Linked DNA regions of Homo sapiens: region 1 is linked to region 2. Evidence: promoter capture Hi-C in 16 types of primary human blood cells and fetal thymus (Javierre and others, 2016). All regions are on one chromosome and are shown on one strand. The core of a region is centred on a gene start or on the middle of the fragment in contact, and the rest is flanking DNA. Distances in the headings are between cores, read along the strand shown.

Evidence for each region. The method cuts DNA at HindIII sites, captures the fragments that hold promoters and counts their contacts. A CHiCAGO score of 5 or more calls a contact.
Region 1: a contact is called between a fragment that was not itself captured here and the fragment with the promoter of ATP5F1E in region 2, in 1 of 17 cell types (naive B cells). The highest score is 5.3, in naive B cells.

The regions. Positions count from the first base shown.
Region 1 is chr20:58,920,865-58,927,905 of GRCh38, reverse strand. No RefSeq gene overlaps it. Among named protein-coding and RNA genes, the nearest start is that of GNAS, 33 kb to the right of the region's middle. The HindIII fragment of the contact is 1,949 bases long and covers 1,409-3,357 here.
Region 2 is chr20:59,029,967-59,036,903 of GRCh38, reverse strand. ATP5F1E (ATP synthase F1 subunit epsilon) reads left to right here and starts at 4,569. Exons shown (of 3, transcript NM_006886.4): 1 at 4,569-4,684; 2 at 6,475-6,601. The coding sequence starts at 4,653. The coding sequence ends at 6,598. It overlaps PRELID3B (PRELI domain containing 3B), which reads left to right. Exons shown (of 6, transcript NM_016045.3): 4 at 144-214; 5 at 331-433; 6 at 1,778-3,759. The coding sequence ends at 1,897. SLMO2-ATP5E (SLMO2-ATP5E readthrough) reads left to right here. Exons shown (of 6, transcript NR_037930.1): 2 at 144-214; 3 at 331-433; 4 at 1,778-1,932; 5 at 6,475-6,601. RefSeq lists a silencer at 4,326-4,615 and an enhancer at 4,636-4,775. The HindIII fragment of the contact is 5,173 bases long and covers 2,209-6,937 here.

The DNA of each region.
Region 1 (7,041 bases), core at 1,134-3,633, 110 kb after region 2:
TGAAATTAAGTGCCTGCTCTTCTACCCAGAAACCCCACTGCTGGGTATGTGTCCCAAAGCTGTGTCCTCTGGGTCTGTAGGCGCCTTGTGCAGGCATGAGTCCACACAGCCTTGTTTGGTGTAGCAGGGAGTGGAAGGCAGCCTGGGGGGTCCATAGTAATCATCAGGATCATCAGGACTGTTCTAGAAGTGCCAGCTTTCCTCTCCTGCTGCCACATGCTAGAATGGAACTTCCCTGCCATATGGGGTTAGGTGGAGCCGGGTGACTTATCTGGGCATGGAAATGTGTGCAGAAGTGACGTGTACCACTACCAAATGAGTCAGGGAATGCTTTGCTGTGCCTTTTTGTCTGGCATAGCAAGCGACAGTAATAGAGAGGGCACCTAGGTCCCTGGGTGATAACAAGAGCAGAACCCTCCTGTTGGTCTACAGTGGTCATGCGGTCTGAATGAGAAATGAGCATTTGTGCCTAAACTGTTACTGTCTCAGGAGTGTATGTTACAGCAACATAACCTACTCTATCCTGACTGACGCAGGGAAACATGTAGACACTGGAAGCAATGACAGCACACACACAGCAATGTGCATAGATCTGAGAAACAGAGCCGGGTGAGGAAGACACAGAATGAGATCTGTAAGCATATCATTTGTGCCAATTAAAAATAATGGGCCCTTTGGCTGGGGATGGTGGCTCATGCCTATAATCGCAGCACTTTGGGAGGCCAGGGCAGGCAGATTGCTTCAGCCAAGGAGTTCAAGACCAGTCTTGGTGACACGGTGAAACCTCGCCTCTACTAAAAATACAAAAATTAGCTCAGCATGGTGGTGTGTGTCTGTAGTCCCAGCTACTCACGAGGCTGAGTGGGGAGGATCGCTTGAGCCTGGGAGGTCAAGGCTGCAGTGAGCTGAGATTGCGTCATGCACTCCAGCCTGGGTGACAGAGTGAGACCCCGTCTCAAAAATAAATAAAATACATAAATAATAAAAACAATGTGCCCCAAACAATGTACATGTTTTTCAATAACACAAAGAGAAGGAACATATCAGACATACTGGAATTGCTGCCTACAGGCAAAGAGAAGTGCAGCTAAGGGGAATAAGTAAATAAATAAAACAAGCACCTTGCACACACCAGTGAAAGTCTGGCCACAGAATGAGGAAGATAACGATTCCCACCTCCGGAGATCCAATAGGGGGGAAAAGATCACTGCTGTGTATCTCCTCCCTGGGGCATCCAGTAATACCAGTTAGGCCTTTTAAGCATATTCACACAAAGATACATTCTCCCCTCAACACCACATGCACACTAACCGCCTTTTAATAGAAATAGAAGCACGCCAGTGAATACACTGCTCAGCCCGTTGCCTGCTTCTCAGCCTGTGACGGTGAGGTTGGAAGCTCTGAAGCTTGGGACAGGCTTTGTCACAGACTGAAAAAGAGATTTGGTCTAGGGGAATGAGGCCAAATGCAGATATACACCCTTGCTCTTTACAGAGTATTAGGAACCTTTCAACTAATTTTGCCTTTTGTTTAAGGTATTTTATATTGCATTTCTGTTACATATAACAAATCCCGACTAATACATCTGAATGCCCCTTTGATCATATATTAAATTTCCATAAACTTTGGCCTGTTTCTGGTCTTCTGTTTTGTTCCCAGGCTCTGTCTGTTCCTGTACTAGAACCACACTAGAACGTGTTATAATATGTGTGATATCTGGTAGGGCAACCCCATGGCCAACAGCCTTCACTGTTGGAATTCTATTTGCTATTCTCTGAGATAATTTATTCTTCCAGATGAACTATAAGATGATTTTGCCACATTAAAAAGATCAGGTTACTCTGGGGTTGCATTAAATTTAGAGTTAACTTAGAGCAGAGCTGTCCGATCTCTTGCCTTCCCTGGACCACACTGGAAGAAGAATTGTCTTGGGCTGCACATAAAATATACTAGCAATAGCTGGTGAGTTAAAAGAAAAATCTCCTAATGTTGTAAGACAGTTTATGAATTTGTGTTGGGCCACATTCAAAGCTGTCCTGGGCTGCATGTGCATGGCTAATTTTTGCATTTTTTGTAGAGACAGGGTTTTACCATGTTGGCCAGGCTGGTCTCGAACTCCTGACCTTAAGCGATCCTCCTGCCTTGGCCTCCAAAAGTGCTGGGATTACAGGCGTGAGCCACCATGCTTCATCTGGGATTTAAAAAATGACTGCCTTACACACACGCACACGCACACACACACTCTTGCACACACCCCACACACACTGTTATACACACCCATACTCACACACATTCATACAACTGTGGCCCTTGGCAGGGCTGTTGCTACTTCCTGTCAAAGTAGCGAGTGAGCAGGCAGGTGAAGCTCCCCTCCACCAGGCAAGGTCTTGGACGGTTCCTGAGGGTTAAAAGCTGGGCTTCTGGAACCAAAGTGGGGCTGGAACCCCAGCTCTGCCCGTGAGCTGCTCCCTGACTTCTGGCAAGGGACACCTCTCGGAGCCTCAGTTTCTGCCTTTATAAACAGTGAGATTTTAAAATATAATGTAAGGTAGTCTAATATAATATAAATTATATATGGTTTAATATGTAATATGTAATTCACCTTATACAGGTGTAATTATATGATATGAAATATACTGTGTAAATATAAATATGTAGTAATGTAAAAGTACAGTGTTATAATATATAATAAAATATAATGTAGCACAGTATAATATAAATTATATAATTTAATGTAATATATCGAGTTATGCATATATAATTAGAAAATGATATAAAAGTTATACATTTAAATTGAAGTTATGTAGCCTTAATCCATATAATAAAATATAATATATTGTCATATAATATGATATAAATTATATATAACAATATACAATATCATATCACTTTGTACATGTATAATTGTAACACATGAATATATAAATATAAATATGTAGTAATATAAAATATAACAATATTAATAACCTATAACATATAAACTATATAATGTAATATAAATTATATGCAATTTAATATGTAACATATTACATAAGTATAATTACACTATAAAGTATATTATAGAAATACATTTGTAGTAATATGTTAATTTATATTATGTAACAGAAATAGGATTTAAAGCCTCTTAATTGTTATGAGCATTAAAGTATTTCAACAGGGTCTGGCACGTAATAGACACTCAGTGCCTATGAGAATCTTACCGTTGTGGTTGTATGGTGTAAGAATAGCAAGCACTTAAGTAGTACACGTGTGCATGGTAAGTACTCCATCAATGCTAACTTTTATTATTATAGTTAGATAGTATACGAGTATTAAGAGACTTAGAATGGGGCCTGGGCACTCAGTGAGTGTTAAGCTTTTATTATCGTACACCAGGTGAATTTTCTGTGGGGGTTTTCTAAGCTGTACAATCATATCATCCACACGTAATCACAATATTACCTTCTCCTTTCTCATATTTTCGACTTCAATTTTTTTTGGTCTAATTGTGCGAACCATCACTTCCAGACCAAAATTAATAGTGGTGAGAATAGGTACTGTTTTGTTGTTCCTGACTTCAAGAATATTAAGAATATTGCTGGCTGTTGGATCCATACATGCACAGGCACACACATGAAATGACATCAAACAAGCATTTTTTAATTATCATTTTGCCAAGGGCTTTTGTTTAAAAAACAAAACAAAACAAAACAGAAAGGGACTCAATGCTCTTAGATGCCTTTCAACCCTATTAAGCTGCCAAAGGCGTCTTCTCTTTTGACCCATTAACATGGACGGTATATAGGCAAACTTCGTGATACTCATCCTTTGCATTCTATGGTAAGCCCTTTCGCTATAGTCTGCATTTTGTTTGCTATGATTTAGAGCTTACTTTGTAAAAAGTGTGTCAAGCATGGGAGAAGGAGACCCAAAGCATCAGTATCATTGTAGGAAAAATCAAATGAGCAAGAAGCAAAGCCCAATATGGCAGCATTCTTCTAAATGTTACCATTGTTGAACTAGCGCTAACAAATGCATGCAAAAGAAAATTCATTGGCATTGTTTATTTCAAGAGCAGCGACAGAAATTAATCCTCAAAACTCCAATGAATTTAAACTCTCACAGTGAAGATTTGGGTTTCAGAAGATGCACTGAATTATCCATGACAAAGCCCTCACTGTGGTCAGATGTGTAGATCAGTTAATTCTATGTCTTTTTATAATTGCAAAAAAGTGACTTTTTTTTTTTTTTTTTTTTTTTTGAGAGAGGGTCTCACTCTGTCACCCAGACTGGAGTGCAATGGTGCAATCCTGGCTCACTGCAACCTCTGCCTCCTGCGTTCAAGTGATTCACCTGCCTCAGCCTCCCGAGTAGCTGGGACTATGGAACTACAGGCACGTGCCAGCATGCCTGGCTAATTTTTGTATTTTTAGTAGAGGCGGGGTTTCGCCATGTTAGCCAGGCTGGTGTCAAACTCCTGACCTCAAGTGACCTGCCCACCTCGGCTTCCGAATGAAAATTTAAATGTTTATTTGAGGTAAGCAAGTGAAAAAGCTTTTTTCTTTCTTTTTTTAGACATAAAGAAATAAAAGACTCAGCATTTATTTTCAACCTACGTACTGCCTTTGTGGAATCAAGTTTCACTGAGACTTGAACATGACTTGAGTGAACTTATATTGTCACAGGCTCTCAAAAGAATTCTTGGCCCACACCAAGAATTTCAATGGTTTCTCCACTACTATTAGTTCTTAGTAAAAGTAAAAACCTTAAGGCAAATGATAAACTACTATTACAATTTCAATTTATTGCTGAAACTGCTATGAGAATATTTTAACTTCTATAGGAAGGTAACAGAAATGCTTATAGTTGTGGATGAAGGCAATTATATAATTCCATGTGGGATAATTTCTCGGTTGTACAATGAGCTATAATTTTATGGGTAAAGGCTTAACACTTTGTTGTCATGTACTGTTGCTGTAAATTGAACCAGGTAAAGCAAGTTTAATTCACAGCAACAGTACTTGCAGGTAATCAATTTTTGCATTTCCACTTCTAATTAAGAAAAGGCCTCTACTCTTTTGTGCAATTTAGCCATTTCTGCATTCAATTCTTGTTCCTAGAAACAAATAAGAATTATTCTAGCTATTCCAGTGATGATAATTCTCTTCTTTGAGAAGATGAGTAAACTTTAATATTTCCTTAAAATTTTGCATATCAGCAGTCTGGTTTCTCCCTCAGCTTTTACCATTTCTCATTAGGAGCCTCTGTTTCTTTGACTGATAGCTTTTTAAGGCCAATCTAAGTATGATCTGGTACAAAAAGTTTTTCGGTTTGGAATTAAGGATAACATTTTAGTACCCAATTAGCTGAATGAAACTAGATTAAAGAGCTCCCCCATACTTTAGGAGGCCAAGACATTTCAATCTCAAGAGCCATCAGAAAAAAATTTGTCATTCTGAACACTGCTACTGAAGGCTATAATTCAGACGGAAGGATGAAACTGAGAGAGGGAAATATTGAATAACTACAGATTTACCAAATGCAATGTGATTTTTAGTGATCCTTCAGTTTCAAATCATAAAAACCTAAAGAACGCAGTTCAGAATGCCCTCCCTGGCCAGTTCCTACAATTTCCAAGAATGCTGTTTGCTAATGAGCTATAAAATACTAAAGCAAGTACCAATCAGGGGATAAATGATGGGAAAACACAAAAGCATTCTTAACCTTTGCTCCAGGAGCTGTTTGGTAATCCCAACCCTGCACTCAATTTTCCATTTCTCAATGTCTTTCTTCCCTCAAACTCCATTTGATGGGACACTCTGTTTCCTTTGAGACAACCTGACCTTGGGGAACAGGGTCACAATATTTTTTCTTTATTTCTCTCCTTTTGGAAAAAGAGAAGAACCAATTCTTATCTCTGGTTCATGGATCCTTATTTCTATTGGCTGATCTCAATTTTTCTCAAACTTGAACTTCATCTCTGAAGCAGTGAAGTGTGTATGTGAGGAGGACTGCAGGTAGACGGGGTTCCTAGACTTGCCTTCCCATTATTGCAAAAGCCACCTTGACAAGGCCGTCAATTTCCAGAGAAAAGTGATGGAAACGCCCCCCTATTTCCCCAGTTGGTTCATTTCACATCTCTTCAAGGACTGTTGGCTTTGTGCCAGGCACTGCTTTGGGCTCCACGGATACAGCAGCGCCTTTTATCCCAGACTCTGACACCTGAGCCCTACCCTCCTTCACTCTCCTCTGCATGCAACCCCAAATCCCACCTCCTCCCAGGAAAGTGTGTGTCACCAATTTTGGAAACGGAAGATCCTTAGAGATGCAAGGATCTCTAAGCAGCAAGATGTGAAAGTCATTAATTACAAAAATACAGTTTTGTCTCAAAATGTATGCTGGAAATTTGTGGTGTGCCCCAGGGCCTTCCTCGTGGGGGCATCTGCCACCTCAAGCTCCTTTCTCCAACCTTCACCCTCTTCCCACCCTTTGAGTCTCAGTTCAAAGATTACCCCCTCAGAGAGTTCTTCCCTAGCAACACCTTCTAAAATGATACCCCTACAACCACCACACCACATGAGCTTGCTGTAGATAAACTTTGTGACTGTCTGAATTATCTTAATTATTTATTTGGTTACCATTGTATCATCTCAGTTCTCCCTCTAGCATGAGAATGGTTTTCTACCCCATTGGCTGCTGTCACCTGACCACCTAGCACAGGGCTTGGCGGATTGTTGAGTGTCTAATAAATACTTGCTGAATGGATAAAAGTCTGTGCTATGACAAAGGATGAAAACATTTGTTCTTAAAATATGAAAAAATTACTCCTAGTAGATTTATACCAAGAAATTACCAGACCATCATGGTGATGAAAGACTAACCCAGAAATTTATATCAATAATCCCCCTCTCCTCTACCTCACCAAGCCCCATATAGATGAAACCCCACTTTGGAAATGTGATTTGCCTCACAGTACAGGGAATGCCCCATTTGAACAAAACCAGCCTGTCCTGGGCACCATCATCTTGTTCAGCCTTAGCCCTAAGGAGGCACTCAACAAAG
Region 2 (6,937 bases), core at 3,320-5,819:
GAATAGTTTATGCAATAATAGCAGCGGTTTATTTGTTGTTTTGTATGTTTAGTAAGATTTTGGCTTGTGTGTTGATTTTAGCAACATTTTGAATCTTCAGTTCCAAAATGATTTGATCTTTTTTTTTTTTCTTCATTCTGTAGATTTCATTTACAAACATGGTTTCAGTAGATGAGAGACTTATATACAAACCACATCCTCAGGATCCAGAAAAGTGAGTAAAAAATATTTTAACAAATGTATCGTAAAGGGTGTTTAAGGTTTTTTTATCAAGTTTTTTGAAAATGAAAGCTGGGTCATCTGAACCTGTGTGAATATGTTTTGTTCCAGAACTGTTTTGACACAAGAAGCCATAATTACCGTGAAAGGAGTTAGCCTCAGCAGTTACCTTGAAGGACTGATGGCAAGTACGATATCCTCAAATGCTAGTAAAGTAAGTGAGGCTGCTTCTTGGTTATTATTCCCTGGTTCATTTCCTGGGAATGGAATGGGGTGCTGACTGCATGTGTGTCCTTGTAAGCTGACCCTTGCCCATTCTACCATAGGAAACTGCAGCACGTTGGGCAGTTACTTACAAAGGCTCTGGGTTCACATCCAAGCTCTAACTTTTAGCCTTTTAACCTTGGGCAACTAAGTTAACCTTTCTATGCCTCAGTTTCCCGTTTTTAAAGTGGAGATTACCCGTTTTACAGGGTTGGCGTGGAGTGAATGAGATAACATATGGAAAGTGTGTAGCCTGAGGCCCAGCACTGAGGAAGTGCTCGATGATGTGTAGCTGCGTGTCATTTAAGGCACTGTTTCTCAACCTTTTTTCACTGTTGTCTCCCCCACAACTCGTTTTAGACATTTTTTCCCTAATTGCCACCTCCATTAAGTCATATATCATATACATATGTGTGGGCTTTATACATAAAAGAGGGAGATTTTTTCCATCCCCCCAAGAACCAATTTTTGCTTATTGAGAATGCATGATCTGAAACAGTAAGTTTAGAGAAAGATGCCATGCACTGTTACATAACACATGGTGAATGTGGTTATCAAGAGATACTCATGGATGCCTTCTCTGTGCCATGCAGAGTGCTAGGCTAGACAGGGTATACAGCAGGGAGCAAAACAAATGTGGTCCCTGCCCCCGTGGAACTAAGAGGCAGGTGACATTAATCATACAGCATGTAATTAGGAAAGAAAAGGTACAGAAAGGTATGAGAGTGCTTATTGAGTGTTCAGTAACTGATGTTTCTGCTGACTGCCAAATGGGGGCAGGTGGATTGCGAGGGGTATTCCAAGAAGAGTGTTCTAGGTGGAGGAGCTGCGTGTGCAAAGGCCCTGAGACAGGAAGTAGGGAATGCTCTGTTTTTCAAGGAACTATATAGAACACTAGGAGAGAAGGGGTGAGGAGTGAGTTGAGGACCAGATCCTGCAGGACCTTGCACAGGATTTTGGTTTAAAATGTAAAGAAAAGGGATTTGACCTTCTTGCCCCTAAAAAGGGGACCACTATAATCATGAAACAAATAAGACATTCTGTCATTTAATTGTAGATTCATTTGAGAACATCTTTTGCATACAAAGTAAAAGTCAGTTTATGGATCAAGCCAGTTGCTCAAGGCATTTGATGTTTGCTAAATAACATTAGAAAAAGCCAGGACAAAAACGATCTGTCATCCTGAGATTGAGTTAAACTTGTCACGCCCCTTGTTACTTCCTGGTGTGTCATTAGTTCGATATATGCCTTTGCTCTCCCTCAGTAACAATAAATGTATTGGATTTTTTTTAAGGGCCGAGAAGCAATGGAATGGGTAATACATAAATTAAATGCTGAGATTGAAGAACTGACAGCCTCAGCAAGAGGAACCATAAGGACTCCAATGGCAGCAGCAGCGTTTGCAGAGAAGTGATCGTGACAGTTGGTAGACAACATCGGGTACTCCAGGTCTCTCCAAACTGACTATATATTTATTTGTTATTTTAAAAATACAACTATATTTTGGGTAGTTTTTTTTTTTTTTTTTTTGATAAGTTGGTGTAAGGCTATGTGACTTGATCAAAACAGATGCAGGGCCTCTAAATAAAAGGGATCATCTGAAATTAATGTTGTTTGAAATTACTATCTGATTTTGAGGGTTCCAGTATTTCTGTGAAAATTCAACAAGAACTCCTTGGAAACTGGTATTGATATTCAGTCTCCTTAAGGTAGATTTTTCAAGCTTTTCATACATTGGAACTCCACCTGACTTTGGACCAACCCCAGAACAGAGCAGAGCCACCTCCTATAGACGCCCATTGCCCTGCTGCTGTACACTTCAGCAGCTTGCACAAGGGAGCTCACTTAAAAGGAGAAATTGTGTAGTTTTAAAATATATTTTGTGTAAAATACCTTACTATGCTATAAACCACCATTAAAAACCAGTGTTTTGATTTGGTACTTAAATATTTTTGGAGTGAAAATTATCACTAAAGTAACATGACTCCAACAAAAGTATGGTTTCATTATAAAAGAGTACTGTATTGATTTGCCCAAGTTTTGTAACTTAGTAAAGGTATTAACTTCCTTGGATTTGTACTTTGTGATTTAGTATGCTGTATCGTGGGCTGGTTATGTTAACTGAAAAAAATAAAGTCATTACCTGAGTTTTGCAGTGCTCTAACTTAAACAGAAGAACAGCTGTTCACATCTTTTAGCATTTTACATTTGCCTAACTTAAAAATTGCCATGTGTCAAAATCATGGTTTTGTAATTGCTAAGGCATGATATGTCAGGTTATTTGAATATAATTACTTTTTGAAGTAATTGTGACCACAAAACATCTTTTTTACATGAAGGAGCTGTGTATCATTTGAAATTACTCAAATGATGTCTTGCTCTGAGGCATAAATCCCAGGTACTTAGTGTTTTTAATAATATGGTGCCACTGCAGGATTTGGGGGCGGTGGGGAAGAACAAGCATAATGGTAGGGGGAGGCTTGGCCTGAAACTAACCACTGAGTGAATTGCACTGCAGGTTTTACTTAACGGGAATTCCTTATTTGGGATGTCAAGAGGGCAGCTGCAAACTGAAAAACAATCCAGTAAATGTACTTTGTTTTATGTATTGTAGCAGGCAATTAACTACTAAATAATAGCTTTGACATTTGCAATTGTTGCATAGAGACTATTTTTGCTAGAAGATGATTAGCTCTTGCCTTTATTTTACAGTGCTTAGTGTGATAAACTTCTAGTCATGTTTCCTATCCAAGAGACCAGTTAATATATGTACATAAACCACAGAAATAGTATAACACACTATTTTTAAATTATCGTTTTCCTACTTAAATTTTGTTTAGCTTAAGACTTCTTAGGACATTTGTAAAAGCAGGTTAAATTTAATAAGGTTTCTGATTTTTTTTTGTAACCGGAGATAGTTTTTACAAGTGAAATAACATTTCAGCTAAATAAAACATCGCTAAATAATTGATATTTGATGAAAATCTGCTTTGTATAATTTCTGTAAATTATCCTTGTTCTGAAAAAGGTGTAATGCCCTAATATTTTTAAATCCTTATCCTTTGATTTTTTAAAAACTGACCTATTGATAAAACTATAAATTTTCATTTTCCAGTGCAGTTAGTTACCTTTTTAAACATAAATGCACAACAAGCAAATGAATTTAAGAGAACTAAACTGGAATAAGTGTTCATAAATGAAACCCTTGGACTATTTAATAAAGTTGAAATGTGAATTAAGGAAAACTTTTGTTAATAAAAACTTTCTTTTAAGTGATGTTTTTCCTGATTATAATTTCTTTTTAGTAATTAAAGGTGAAGGGCAAAGGCTTTTTTTTCTTTATGAGAGAAACACTTTAATTCCTAGACTGTGAGCCTTCACTGCGTTGGGTTAGTTTCTCTAAATCACAGGCTCTGAGATGAGCATTTTCCCGGCCGCCTGGCAGTTCCCTGTGCCTCCAGTGGGTTTTCCTCACATTTTTCTTCCCATCCATTCCGGGCAACAGTGACAACTGTTGCCTTACCCTCCGTCTTGTCGCACATCGGAAGCAGGTCCTAGAACTACAGAAAACGCTAGGGGGTCCTCCACTGGGTTTCCAGGGTTTAGTGTCACTCCGAGAAAGGGGGTGCCCTAAGAGCCTTTCTAAATCTCAGCTCTCAGGACACGCTTGTCTGTCCACAGATTTAAAAAAGCCGGCGCCGTTTCCCTGAAGCGGGCGCAAAGCCAGGCCCTCGGGGCGGCCGTGCCCGCGCCGCCTCGCGTCCTCGCTTCCCGAAAGCACGCGGCTCAGTGGTCCTTAGCGAGCGGGGACACCCCGGCCTTCTTGCCCCCGTCGTCCCCGCCGGGGTAATACGGAAGGTCGGGGGACACACGCCCCGGGAGCTCTTGGAGCCAATAGGTGGGCGCGGCCGGCCGGCCCGCCCCGGGATTGGCACCCGCAGTCCAGACCGCGCGCGCCCATTGGCTCCCGGCGCCGGGGGGCTTCCGCGGCAGGGCAGCAGGGGCCGTGCTCAGGGGCGGGGCCGGGTAGGAGGCGGTGATTGGCAGGTCCGCACGCCCCGCCTCTTCCGCTTCTGTGGTCTGATCTTCCTGCGGCTGAACCGCCCGGCTGAGCCGACATTGCCGGCGTCTTGGCGATTCGGCCCGACGAGCTCCGCTTTCGCTACAGCATGGTGGCCTACTGGAGACAGGCTGGACTCAGGTAGGCCCAGGCCTCCAGAGGGAAGGGCTTCGCGAGCCGGCCCGCGCGCATCCCGGTGCCCAGAGGTCATGCAGGACACAGAGCAGCGGCCCCACGCGTGACCGGGGTTGGGCCAAGCCTCGGGCGTCGCCGCCAAGATGGCGTCGCTGTGGGCAAAGCGCTCAGGCGGGCGCGGCCTCGACCTCGCGTGGGAGCGCGTCTGTGTCCTGCCTCGCTTCCCGACGGTGCGGCCCAGCACCCACAGAGTGCCCCTGGACACCTTTGTGAATGGCAGGTTTCTCGAGAGAGAGGCCAGCTCTTATTTAGCAAACCTTTTTCTTCTAGAATGGTGCTGGAGCCAGGTGGTGAAAGTAGTACAGTCACATCCACCTCGGGAAACAGGAGATTTCTCTCCACGTGACCGCCGTTAGCAGCTTTGACCTTTAATCCAGCATCGAGGTGGAGCCTTTTACAACTTTACACATTTTTTTTTTAAACTTTTAAGTCCTGTTGATTTCAGGTTTCCTTATGTCTAAAAGGGGTGAAAGCCATAACTGTCGAGAGCCCCTCACAAAGATGAGAGGTGGCTCCTGGAAAGCTCAAATATGGAACCCACTTGAGGACATGGTGTCTCATAGTGGAACCGCAAACCATTGGTCTAGCTGTCACATCCGATTTTTTTTTACCCGTGCACCTGAGTGAGCAGAAGTACCTTGCTCTAGGTGACACACCTTGTTAGTTGACTGGATGGTGTAGCACTTTACATTTTGTGGGTACACTACAGCGGAGCTTCCCGACTTGCTGAGGTCAAGCCAGCGAAGTCTTGTAGAATTGGAAGGATGGAAGGATGATAGTCCCAGTAGTAGATACCGTTTATTAGGCAACCTACCCTGTGATCCATACTTTTTCACACTTGTTTTTCCTCCTCCCAGCTATCAGCAGGACAGGTATTATTGTCCTTTTATTCTGTTGTTTTTTTCAGGTGAGTGAGTAAACGTGCTGAAAAGGTTGAACAGCCTGAAGGTCACCCAGTTAGTAAGAATGGAAGCAGGCATTGGAACTCATACCTCTGAGTCCCCAAAATAAATTCTAAAACATGAGAAAATAGCACCCCTCCCCGCTTCCTGTTTTTCAAAAGTGGGAAAGGTGATCTGACATCTTTTGGAAACTACAGTGTTGATGGGAGTCCATCTACCAAACAGGAAGCAGGTTTTACAGTTTTGCTAGAATTGATGATGTTCTCTAAGCACTTTTCAGTTTGATTTAGAAATCTTCATTAGGAGGTTATTTTCAGTGGCAGACTTGTGAGACAGAATTCAGTATTCTCAGAGAAGAGTTTAAATAATTTAGAACGAATTGTTTTAATTCAAAATAGTTTTCTCTTATGTATACCTCATTTTCCAAGAATAATATAATTAAAGTTTTAAGGAGAGAAATCGAGGAGAGAATTCATGATTCATGTTATAGTCTCTAAACATTTCAGTCTCTTTTTTTCTATGCTGTGGGATTTTTAAAAACATTTATGCATCTTTCATTTTGAATTAATATACACTAAAGAGAAAACACAGTACAAAGAAGAAAAATCAAAGATCATCCATCCAAACACCAGTTAATACTTTGGTACATTTTTTTCTAGTTCTTTTTCTTTGTATAGATACTTTTTGGCATTAGTCATATTTTTAAATCCAATTCTACAATAAGGTACAACCAAACCAAAATAAAAAGTACAGGAAGAAAAGCGAAAACACAGTAACAGCTGTCTGGCTGGAATATTGATAATTAACCATATACCTTCTCTCATTTTCTCCCAGCTACATCCGATACTCCCAGATCTGTGCAAAAGCAGTGAGAGATGCACTGAAGACAGAATTCAAAGCAAATGCTGAGAAGACTTCTGGCAGCAACGTAAAAATTGTGAAAGTAAAGAAGGAATAATCTGTAAGTTATGGATTTATTTAGAAGAACAGTTGCATCTTAAGTTTTTGGAGCACCATAAAGATCAAAATAATTTTAGTTTTGGGTTCTATTCATTTTTTAGTCAGTGTATTTGGAAGTTAGTTATTGGGATGGTATAATTTAAAGCATGCAGGTTATAGAAGTCCCCTGGCCTAATAAAAAGAAAGTCTTCTTGGGCCCTGACAAGCAGAAGTAATTGGCACATTGATTTTCAGTTCATTTAGCAATGCTTAGGTAGAGAGCCATCGTATTTGAATTAAACCTGTTTCATTTGTCTGCACAAATCAAATAATTTGGAGGATGAACTCCCCACTTGTA